Linked DNA regions of Homo sapiens: region 2 is linked to region 1. Evidence: promoter capture Hi-C in 16 types of primary human blood cells and fetal thymus (Javierre and others, 2016). All regions are on one chromosome and are shown on one strand. Each heading gives the region's core, a stretch centred on a gene start or on the middle of the fragment in contact. The rest is flanking DNA. Distances are from core to core; before and after follow the strand shown.

Evidence for each region. Contacts are between HindIII fragments. The CHiCAGO score rates a contact against its expected background, and 5 or more counts as called.
Region 2: a fragment that was not itself captured here is called in contact with the fragment with the promoter of ALKBH3 in region 1 in 4 of 17 cell types (non-activated CD4 T cells, naive B cells, total CD4 T cells and 1 more); the score reaches 7.1 in non-activated CD4 T cells.

The regions. Positions count from the first base shown.
Region 1 is chr11:43,879,109-43,885,371 of GRCh38, forward strand. It overlaps ALKBH3 (alkB homolog 3, alpha-ketoglutarate dependent dioxygenase), which reads left to right and starts at 1,723. Exons shown (of 10, transcript NM_139178.4): 1 at 1,723-2,071; 2 at 3,475-3,623; 3 at 3,977-4,080; 4 at 4,875-4,909. The coding sequence starts at 3,545. LOC105376644 (a long non-coding RNA gene) reads right to left here and starts at 1,629. Exons shown (of 3, transcript XR_001748200.2): 1 at 1,574-1,629. RefSeq lists an enhancer at 1,509-1,708. The HindIII fragment of the contact is 7,136 bases long and covers 1-2,177 here.
Region 2 is chr11:43,301,116-43,307,175 of GRCh38, forward strand. No RefSeq gene overlaps it. Among named protein-coding and RNA genes, the nearest start is that of API5, 7.8 kb to the right of the region's middle. The HindIII fragment of the contact is 718 bases long and covers 1,930-2,647 here.

The sequences.
Region 1 (6,263 bases), core at 473-2,972:
GCAAACAGGGTAGTGAAGGGTGGGTTTGGAATGGAGACTCAATAGGTTGATAATTGGCAACACACTTCGCCTTCATTCCTTCTCCCATGGTCTCTACCACCACCTCCTGATAAAAACTCAAACACTTCAAATAGAAATAAGAAAGTCAAGACCCTAATGAGGATGCCAAGACCATTAAGAACATCTAATACTATATACTCGCATCGTCTAGGGTAACCAACCATCTCAGTTTGCCCAGGACTGTCCTGGCTTTAGCACTTAAAGTCCTGTGTCTTGGGAAACTCCTCAGGCCCATACAAACCAGAACAATTTGTCATCCTACATATGTCCTAGAGGTTTTCAAAATTTTTGTGCACCAGAATCACTTGGGTGCTTGTTAAAAACGCAGGTGATTCTGTTAAACAAAAAAAAAGCAGTAATTTCAGATGCAAGTAAATCATGGATTGATCTTTGAGAAATACACTACGTAGAGGCTGAAGAGGTGTCAATCACTACTTTTAGGAACTCCTCAATCCAGACTTCTTTGTTCCTGTTCCAAAACTATAATCATTGAAAAGAAAGAAATAACATATTTTAGAAGATACAGCCAAAGTTCCTGAGCCAGAAGCAGACATTGACAAATTAGTTGATGGGGGAAAAAAACTGTAGTGTGGCCTTAGCATTTTCTCTCCTTTCAGGTCTAGGATAAATCATTTTTTTCCTTCAGTGTCACAAAGTATAACAAATAATAATGAGTGCTGTGAAAATGGATTTGATAGTAGCAACAATATAGGTACACATTGATGAGGTGTACCTATAATGAGCTTCCTGAAGGTAAACACTCATATCAGGCTTATTTTAAAGATTTCCACAGTGACTATACTTTGGCGGATCTTAGAGAATGACTTGCATAAAACAGTCAATTCAGTGCTACTTTTGCTATTTTCATACTGTAAAGTACATGGTTTAACATGACCATTTTAAAGATGTTTCTCATGAGCTCAAATGGGGTGAGCTCTTTTTCATTTTTTGAGTTTTTGTTGTGTTCCAGGCATTGTGCTATATTCTTTAAATGCATTATCTCACTTAATCCTCCCAAAAAGAGCGATACCCATTTTAAAAAGAGGCAGAGTACTTGCCCTAGATTATACAACTAGTAAGTGGTGGTGTCTGGGCCAAAATGTAGGTCTGTTCACTCAAGCAAATTTGCTTAGCACTGGAGAGAGCCAAGGTGAATTAAGGCGTGGTCCTACGCCCTGCTGTAAATGCTGTGTTCGGAGGTGTGCACAGGCTGCAATAGGAACACAAAGGAGGCTCATTTCAGGCTCTCCGTGGTTTTTAGGATAAAATGCAAATCCTTTTGCCTAACACATTATAACCAGGTCCCCCAAACTCCTCTCCCTTTATCTAGTCCCACAGGGACCCGGTCACTCTTTCTGCCACAAAGATGCCGATGCTTGGACATCTCCAGTTTCGAGGAACTCACGTAGGAGACACGCCTTCACTTCCACCTTTGCCAAACCCCGACCCCTTCACACCGCTCCCCTGCACTCTCAATCCCTGTCCGCTGCAACACATATCCCCTCATCAGCACCTTCGGTGATTAGGCCCTCCAGGCGCGGGGGATGTGGGACTACCCGGACTGAGGACTGCGCACCGGAAGTAGTGGCGGCGCTGCGTAACGTCGAGAGGAAGTGCCTGATGCCGCGGCCTGTGATTGGGAGTTGCTGGAGTCGGTGCTTCACTCTTAAGGTTCCGATCACAGACTGCGGAGTGGGTCAGGGGCTGCGAGGGCTGCCCCAAGTCCTACCGGGTTTGCACGGGCGCGCCCGGCTCCGCCCGCAAGTGCGCCTTCCTGACTTACTGCTGGGTGCGCGGGGCTGGGGGTGCGAGTACCACCCCTGAAGTCTCTTCCTGGGCGACCTCCGGGGCCTCATTCTAGGCCTCCTTAAAGAGAAGGATCTAAATTAGGAAAAGGAAGTGCCCTTATCCACGACCAAGCTCTTCCACCTGCGGAGCTCGCTTAGTCTGCACCTCAACCGTGCGGAAAGTGACTGCCCTGTTTACTGAGGAAAAACTGGGGCTCAGAAAGGTGAAGTCATTTGCCATGGGCCATGCAGCTGGGAAGTGACAGATCTGGATTCAAAGCGAGTTCTGGCTGGCGCCAGAGTCCTTGTATTTTACAGCACTGGTTCTCAAGCTTTATGTGCATTAAGAATTCCTGGGTTGAGGGTGGCGTTAGTTAACAAATTCTGGGACTCTACAAATTGAGTAGATCTGGGATGGGGCTCTGGAATCTATTTTCAACAATTGTTCCCTGGCAAATAACATATGGCTCCCCAGTGAATGGAGCAAGAAGGTGAGCAAGTCGTATCCTCTGCGGGGACTGTAGGTAATTGTGTTACGCTTTTAGGGCCTCAATTGAGAGAACATGTCAAACGGGAGCTCCTGGGATTGGAGAATTGGTATTTGATTGTCATTAACTCTTCTGGGCAGATGGCAGCCTCTGCGTCTCTCCACCTATTAAATGAAATGAATTACATGCTTATCATCTGGGGGAACTTGTTAAACACACAGATTCCTGGGCCTGGCTCAGCTCTACTGAATCAGAAGAGGTGGGAGATGGGACCTGGGAATCTATAGTCTAAGCAAGCTATTAATATAAAACGAGCTTTTACCTTTGAGAACTTGAGGTGTGAAGCTTTCTTAGGTAGAAGCATAAAGAAATAGATTACAGATGTGGAACATGTGGCTTGAATTTCCTTGTTGTTTTGGTAGCTGTACGTGCTTCTGCATTTGCTGTAGGCTAAGCTTTTACTGGTACAACTGTCAAATTAGTATTATTAGCCATTATGAGGTGGATTTATCCGTTAGCTGGAGACAGGAGTTTAATATAAGTTGAATGTTAATCTGTCTGTTGTTGATTTCCTGAGTGGCTTTGGGTGCATCATTGAACTTTACCGTCCACATACATACCTGCATTGTGTCAAATCTTACACTGCTTGTTATAAAGACAAATACCTGTATCCATCCTAAATCAGATTTTCTGAAGGTGGGCCATAGGTATTTTGAACAAACTTCCAGGGAAGTTTGATGCAGCCAGTGATAATGGAATATATGCTTGGAAACAGTCTTAGCCGATTTCTCAATGTCCATGTAGGTGAAAATGGGAATAGTACAGTTTCCTTATATTCTACTCTTGGGGACTATTAAGAGGAATGTGGTTTATAATAGGTCCTAATTTTAGAATTTCTTAAAATGCACTTTCTTGTGAAAGAAACAAAAGTACTATGGTAAGATTACAAAAGGTGAATGCTAAAGCCAGCAGCCCCAAATGACTAGGCTTCTTGAATGAAATGTTGTGATGACATAAACTGATTTTACATGGAAGCTCTATTGCCATTGAGAGTCTTCTGCCTGAAATTAATTATGCCTTAGGAGTAATTGTTCACAATCCTAACTAAAAGCACTGTTTTGTTTTGTTTTAATAAACAGATACCATGGAGTAGTTTGAAACAGGAACAAAATCTTCTGAAAGCTCGGAGCAGAAGCCTTTTTGGTCAACATGGAGGAAAAAAGACGGCGAGCCCGAGTTCAGGGAGCCTGGGCTGCCCCTGTTAAAAGCCAGGCCATTGCTCAGCCAGGCAAGAATCTGTAGGGATTTTGTGTGTGTGTGGATATGGACAACTCTCATTCTCTTTTATTTATATCCTTTTGGTTTATAATGGACTTCCATTTCAATTGACGTCAAGGAATTGTTTAAAATGTGGCTGATATTTTGTCCGATTTTGTTGATGGTGAGCTAAGGGTGGGTCTTTAATGTTCCTCATATTTAGTCCACACCCTCAAACCTTTCAGTATCTTCTGTTGACTTTACCAGTTAGTTTCTACATGTCATAGAGATCATCTCCAAGTGGGCTTTATTGGCCCTTGCTCAGTAGAAGGTGCTGAGAACAGACTTTCCCCTGGTTTGAGGCTGTCCCCTCTCTTGCTTCAGCTACCACTGCTAAGAGCCATCTCCACCAGAAGCCTGGCCAGACCTGGAAGAACAAAGAGCATCATCTCTCTGACAGAGAGTTTGTGTTCAAAGAACCTCAGCAGGTAAATTCATGGTTTTTTCTTCAATAGTGATAAAAATTTGCTTAGAAAAGTGATATTCACACAGTAGACACTCAAATAAATAATGACTGAATAAATTCACTAATAGCAGAGCAGAAGAACTATAATAATAATGAAATGAGAAATATTTCAGTTCCTTTCTATGTCTGGGGATTCTTCGTAGTCTGCTCCCAGTTTATGGTCACATGTTATTCCCGTATTTTTGGCAAGGAGGTTACACCATAATGAGAGCTTGCTTGCATTGGTTATTTGAGCTCCAGCAGTCCTAAAACTGTGCTGTCTTCAGTGCTATTGCACTTCACCATCTTTGGAATTGGATTAAAATTTCAGTTTTTACAATAAAATGCCTGATTTTTAGCCCTTTTTTCCCATGAGGAAAAATGTAGGAAACAGTGAAGATTTACTTTTTAATAATGTGGAAAAGTTAAAAAGTTGGGTTTCTTGCCATAGTAACAACCCTATAAATAATTATTAAAACTCCTTATTTTATAGCATATTTTCTATTTTAAAAAATCTTGTCAAGATTTTTCCAGAGCTGCTGGCTGCTAGGAAAATTTATTCTATTAATAATTGTATCTTCTTTTACTGTCTACTAGCAAATGTGAAGTAGTTTTAAGAAGAGTGGAGACAAGGGTCTCTAGTGGGTTAGTGAGAAGTTGGAATAGAAAAGAGATAGTTTTTAACTTTATTTTGACCAGAAATGGGAAGATATGGTAAGTCAGTATCCTTGAGGATTAAGAACATCCCAGAAGTAAGATCCGCCTATTTCCTTGCAGGTAGTACGTAGAGCTCCTGAGCCACGAGTGATTGAGTAAGTAATTTGCTGTCTTCCTGTAATTGTTGCCCACAGTGAAATGAAGAGCCTGGAATCTTTCCTCACTGTTTTTTCTATCTGGAAGAGAATGGCCCAATAAGTGTCTTAACTGTAGTCTGGGATATTCCCATCTCAAATGTCTTTAAACTTGATCTTTTGAGAAGACTTTCTGAATTTGCTGATAGTATTGAAAATGCAACAAGATATCCATATGTTAAACTTTGACTTGTGTAGATTTCCTGGCCCTATTTCACCGATATCTGTAGACAGTAAGCTAAACCTCTCAGGCAAAGACAGAGAGGGATTTTTCCTGAGTCATTGAAGCATGGTTCTTTGAGAAGCCATTAATTGCCTCTTTTTTTTTTTTTTTTTTTTACTAGCAATGCTATGAAAGCTGCTAGTGCTGTAGATGAGCTTACAGTCCATTTATTAAAACCATGTAATTATTCCAGAACAATTTAAATGATAGTAAACATTCTTCTTATATTGATCTGTGTCTAAAATGTTCTTGTCCAAAGTTGGTGAGAGATGCTTTGACTCCTCTTTTTATGCTTGTCAGTTTTCATCTGATGTAGATAAATTGTCAGTAGAAACTATTCTTTTATCTTAGCAAATTAGCATCAGATATATGTTCTTGCCCATGATCAATCTGTTTGTTATGCTGTTTGACTGCTTGCAGATTGGCTTGTATATCTTAGAAAAAGTCGCAGGCTAATAGTCTTTGGTTGTTTATTATTTTTTATTTTTTTGGAACAGGCTGTCACTCTGTCACTCAGGCTGGAGTGCAGTGGCATAATCAAAACTCACTGTAGCCTCCATCTTCTGGGCTCAAGTGATCCTCCCACCTCAGCCTCCCGAGTAGCTGGGACCACAGGCACACACCACCATGCCTTGCTCCTTTTTTAAAAAATTTTTTGTAGAGATGGGATCTCCCTATGTTGCCTGGGCTGGTTTCGAATTCCTGGGCTGAAATGATCCTCCCACCTCAGCCTCCCAAAGTGCTGATATTACAGGGATGAGCTACCATGCCAGGCCTTTGGTTGTTTTAAAAAAACAAGTGTGTTAGTGCCTTCATTGGTGAAGGAGAATAAACAAAACCATGAAACATGTTGTAAGCTACAGATGTGACATTCGGCCCCCCAGAAACAGGCAATTGTCGGAGAAAAATGACAGAACTCATTCCTACTTGGTCCTAGAATCTGTTAATTCTCATTATCTAAAGTTAACTATGCTAGGTTTTAAAAAAATAGCCGGAAATGTCTTCCATATTTAAAGTGAGCCATTTCTGAATGTGGGCCAAAAATACACCATATTGAAACATTTTGTTCTCTGTATACTCAGGGAAACATTA
Region 2 (6,060 bases), core at 1,039-3,538, 580 kb before region 1:
CATGTAAAGACAGATGCAGAGATTACAGTGATGCTACCACAAGCCCAGGAATGCTGACAGCCACCAGAAGCTGGAAGAGGAAAGAAACAGAATCTCCCCCAGAGCCTCTGGAAGCAACGTGGTCTTGCCAGCAACACCTGAATTTCAGACTTCTGGCCCCAAGAACTGTGAGAGCATTGCGAGAACATGAAATGGTTTAAAGAGACCACATGTATGATCATTTGTTGTCGCAGCCACAGAAAACTAATACACCCTGGTTTCCCATATTTGAGATGCAATCAGAGGGAACAAATTTATCTCCAAAGAGTAACTGACAGCGACCAAAGAACATTCATTCTTGAAATATAAATTAATAAGACCTAAAATGGTACAAGGGAAGGAAGCGAACACTGAGCACTTACAATGGGGCAGGCACTGTCCTAAGCACTAGCCTGTATTATTTCATTTAATCCCCACAACAACCCTAGAAGTAGATACTATTCATAATTATGTGAAGCTCCCGTGGCCAGACCCAAATTGGATTAGAGGTTGGAAGTGTCTTGATAAGGAACTGGGAGACTCCACACCTGACTTAGAAATAAACATATTTAAATAACAGGCAGTTTAGTAGATAGAGGTGCAGCCATCAGAGCCAGACTACCTGGATATGAACCCAAGAACTTCTCACCAGCTGTGTGGCCCTGGTGACAGGGTCGCATAAAGTTACATAACCTTACATTAAGTTATTGTGAACATCATTTGAGCTGAAACATCGAAAGCACTTAGCACAAAGCCTGACAGATAGCAGTTATTCCACAGGGTTCAGCTATTACTGTAACACACATGCTATTATGCACACAGTTAACACTTAATGTATATCTGCTATGATTATCATCATTAGTTGGTTTAAGACCTAGGTAGACCTTAATTTGGAAATCTTTCTTGGTTTCTTCCAGAGAGCCATGATCTCTTTTCTGTTAGAATTAAAAAGACCTCCTTGGAAGACGGAAATTTAAAATAAAAGCTCTCAGAATGTAGGCAAAAGATGGAGCCAAAATATAAGGCATACAAACTACTGACAGAGGCCAGGCACAGTGGCTCATACCTATAATCCCAGAACTTTGGGAGGCCAAGGTGGGCATATCACCTGAGGTCAGGAGTTCGAGACCGGCATGGCCAACATGGAGAAACCCCCATCTCTACTAAAAATACAAAAATTAGCTGGGCATGGTGACATGTGCCTGTAATCCCAGCTACTCAGGAGGCTGAGGTAGGAGAATCGCTTGATCATGGGAGGTGGAGGTTGCAGTGAGCCAAGATCATGCCACTGCACTCCAGCCTGGGGGACAGAGCAAAACTCCATCTCAAAAAAAAGGAATAAATCCATCAGAAATGTCACACCTCTATATAGCAGCCAATGTTTCCCCAAATAAAAGGTCAGGAGTTTGAGACCAGCCTGACCAACATGACAAAACCCCACCTCTACTAAAAATACAAAAACTAGCTGGGCATGGTGGCACACACCTGTAATCCCAGCTACTTGGGAGGCTGAGGAATGGGAATGGCTTGAACTTGGGAGGCAGATGTTGCATCAAGCCAGGATAGCACCACTTCACTCTAGCCTGGGCAACCGAGTGAGAGAGTGAGAACTGTCACCAAAAAAAAAAAAAAAAAAAAGTACTGGAAGTACTGGCAGGGGAGGAGGTGGTCCTTTAAGCTTTTCAACTAATATTTAATAGACAAACCCAATTTTAAAGTTACAAAATAAATAAATGTAAAGATAGTCACAGCCCTCAAAATGTCAAAATATACTGGGGCAAAAGTCAGTGATGTTAGGTAGGTAGGTGGGATAATGGGAGGTTAGGAAAAGGAGATAATGGTTTTCCTAAAAATAAATTAATAAAAAGAAAACAAAGTTAAAAAAAATCTTACTGCCAAGAAATCAGTAGAAGCTTTTGTCATACTACAATAAACTGTTGTTGGAAAACTTGTTTTTTAGTTTATTCTTTCATTTATTTAACACTTATTAAACATCTAATAAGTAGTTCCTGATCAAGTTTTATTATCCAGTGGAGCTGTATACAGACAACAGAAATACAAAGTAGGAAGATTTGAGTGTCACAGAGAAGCAACAAAAACGAAGAGATGCGCTAGGCACAGTGACTCACACCTGCAATCCCAACACCTGGGGAGGCCAGGCAGGAGGAAGGCTTGAGACCAGGAGTTCAAGACCAGCCTAGGCAAAATAGTGAGACTCTGTACAAAAAATTTAAAAATTAGCTGGGCAAGGTAACACACACCTATAGTCCCAGCTACTTGAGAGGCTAAGGCAGGAGGATTGCTTGAGCCCAGGGGGGTAAGGCTGCAGTGAGCTGTGATCATGCCACTGCACTCCAGCCTAGGTGACAGAGCGAGAAAAAAAAAAAAGGAAGAGATGTTCACTGTGGATTTCCAGGGCAAGCACTAAACCAGATAAGCACCTAGATCTCTTCTAGACTCTGTAAGGCTAATTCCAGACTGTCATCAGTCACATACCACAGCTTCCGTATATGAAGCCTTTCTATTGCCTGGTTTTATTCTATACTGATGTTATTGCTTTACTTGAGTAAACCAAATATATTTTACTCATGTATTTTGTTTATTGTTTTTCTGCCTCTGCCAGAATGTAAGCTTCCTGCTTGCTTGGCTTGGTTGCATTCTAAAACAGTGCTTGGCTCGTAGGAAATGTTCAATACGTACTTGAATGATGAACCAAAACACAATCTCTACTCAGGCACTCAGCTTTACAGAATGAAATCCAGATGGTCCTCAAACGTACCCATTGACACAGAATGTTATCTGTTTGTGCTGCTTTAACAAAATACCTGAGACTGGGTGATCTATAAGTAATAGCATTTTGTTTCTCACAGTTCTGGAGGCTGAGAAGTCCAAGATCAAGGGCTAGCAGGTTTGGTGCCTGGTGAGGGCTACTCTCTCTGCTTCAAGACATCACCTTATTGTTGTGTCCTCATGTGGCAGAAGGACAGAAAGGCAACAAGGGCTAAATGCTGTGTGAAGCCCCTTTTATAAAGGCCTTACTCCCATTTAAGAGAGAAGAGCCAGCCAGGCATGGCAGCTCATGCCTATAATCCCAATACTTTGGGAGGCCGAGGCAGGCAGATCACCTGCGGTCAGGAGACCAGACTGACCAACATGGACCCCATCTCTACTAAAAATACAAAATTAGCCAGGCATGGTGGTGCATGCCTGTAACCCCAGCTATTCGGGAGGCTGAGGCAGGAGAATCACTTGAACCCGGGAGGCGGAGGTTGTGGTGAGCCGAGATGGTGCCACTGCACTCCAGCCTGGGCAACAAGAGCGAAACTCCATCTCAAAAAAGGAAAAAAAAAAAAGAGGGAAGAGCCCTCACGACCTAATCACTTCCTAAAGGATCCACCTATTAATACTATTGTTTGGAGATTAAGTTCCAAGAGGGGACAGAAACATTCAAACCATAGCAGATGCTACAGAAATGCCCTTACAAGGAAATCAACACCTGCCTCGCCTCCTCATTTTCTAGGAACAGTCCCACACTCCTCTATCAGTAGCTATGGGCCCCTGGCAGCAATGTTTGCTTTGTATGATCTTGCTTTCCTGGTCTAAATTGATTGGGTGGAATAGACATGTGACCTAAGGTTAGCCAATCCAATTCTCTTTTCTGGGATTGAATTTTGCCTTTGTAAGAATAGAGAAAGTTTGACAACATGACCTCTAAACTCCTTCAGAGATCCAATGAAAAGGAAGGAGAATCTGTATAAAATTACAAAAGTCATTGTAGAAAATCTGGACAATACAGTAAAGCACAAAGAAGAAAATAAAAATCACCTATTTATCAGTGTAATAATGAAAAATGAGGGACAACTGACATATCCTATAAGAAACAGAGAAACTATTAATAAACTATGGTACATCCATAATAGGCAGTGGCCAGAAGTGGTGGCTCACACCTGTAATCCCAGCACTTTGGGAGGCTGAGGTGGGTGGATCACCTGAGGTCAGGAGTTCAAGACCAGCCTGGCCAATATGGTGAAACCTCATCTCTACTAAAAATACAAAAATTAGAGGCCGGGCGCAGTGGCTCACACCTGTAATCTCAGCACTTTAGGGAGGCAGAAGCAGGCAGATCATGAGGTCAGGAGATGGAGACCATCCTGGCTAACACGGTGAAACCCCATCTCTACTAAAAATACAAAAAATTAGCCGGGTGTGGCGGCACGCGCCTGTAATCCCAGCTACTTGGGAGGCTGAGGCAGGAGAATCACTTGAACCCAGGAGGCAGAGGTTGCAGTGAGCCGAGATCACACCACTGCACTCCAGCCTGGGCGACAGAGTGAGACTCCCGTCTCAAAAAAACAAAACAAAACAAAACAAAAAATTAGCTGGGCATGGTAGCAGGCACCTGTAATCCCAGCTACTCTGAAGGCTGAGGCAGGAGAATGGCTTGAACCCAGGAGGCAGAGGTTGCAGTGAGCCGAGATCACGCCATTGCACTCCAGCCTGGGTGACAAGAGTGAAACTCCATCTAAAAATAATAATAATAATAATAATAGGCAGTAAGCTCAGGGAAAGATTTACAAAACATATTGTTAACAAAAGCAAGGTGTAGAACAAAATGTGTAATGTGCTCCCATTTATGTATTTTTAGACCCATGTGTTGTATATAAAGGCCTATAAGAATATAAATTATATTGGTAGTCATAGTTACCTCTGAGGAAGGGAGAGTTGAAGAGGAACTTTTGCTTATTACATGAAACATTTTGTAGTACTTGGATGTATTATGATGATACTGTATTCTTACAGTTACTTGTTTAATTAAAGAAAAATGGAAAAATTATAAAAAGATACTTTATAAGAAGTAGAATTGACTAACATTGGAGATAAGGAAACCATTTAGGAACTGTGGCCATTGTTCAGATTTGAGGGGATAGGGTCTGACATGGGACAGAAGGAAGAGTGAGAAACACATAAATGTGTGATAGATTTAGGGTATAAAATTGAGACTTCTTATTGATTGAATGTAGTGTGAAAAGGAGGAGGAGAGAATGTTCAGGCTGAGAGGCAAAGCACTTCCACAGCAAAGTGTTGCCTTTTTGGCAAGGCATGGTGGCTCACATCTTTAATCGCAACACTTTGAAAGCCCAAGTTGGTGGCGGGTGTGGAGGCTCATGCCTGTAATCCCAGCACTTTGGGAGTTCGAGATGGGTGGATCACGAGGTCAAGAGATTGAGATCATCCTGGCCAACATGGTGAAACCCCATCTCTACTAAAAATACAAAAATTAGCTGGGCATGATGGCATGCACCTGTAGTCCCAGCTACTCCGGAGGCTAAGGCAGGAGAATTGCTTGAACCTGGAAGGCAGAGGTTGCAGTGAGCTGAGATCGTGCCACTGCACTCCAGGCTGGTGATAGAGTAAGACAAGAAAGAGAGAGAGAGAGAGAGAGAGAGAGAGAGAGAGAGAGAAAGGAAGGAAGGAAGGAAAGAAGGAAGGAAGGAAGGAGAGAGGAAGGAAGGAAAGAGAGAGAGAGAAAGAAGGAAAGAAAGAAAGAAAAGGGAGGGAGGGAAAGAAGGGAGGGAGGGAAAGAAGGGAGGGAGGGAAAGAAGGGAGGGAGGGAAAGAAGGGAGGGAGGGAAAGAAGGGAGGGAGGGAAAGAAAGAAAGAAAGAAAGAAAGAAAGAAAAGAAAGAAAGAAAGAAAAAGAAAGAAAGAAAGAAAGAAAAAGAAAGAAAGAAAGAAAAAGAAAGAAAAGAAGCCAAGTTGGGAGGATGGCTTGAGCCTGGGAGATTGAGGCTGCAGTGAGCCATGACTGCACCACTGCACTCTAGCCTGGGTGACAGAGGGAGACCCTGTCTCAACAACAACAACAACAACAACAACAAAAAAGCATGGGTTTTGGAATTAGGCTGCCAGGACTCAAAACTCATCTCAGTTAAGGAACATGGGACCAGTTAGTTCACGTCTCTGTGTCTGTTTCCTCATTTGTAAAGTGGAAATGATAATATTATCTCCTGGCTCATAGAGTTTTTGAGAATTGATTCACATGA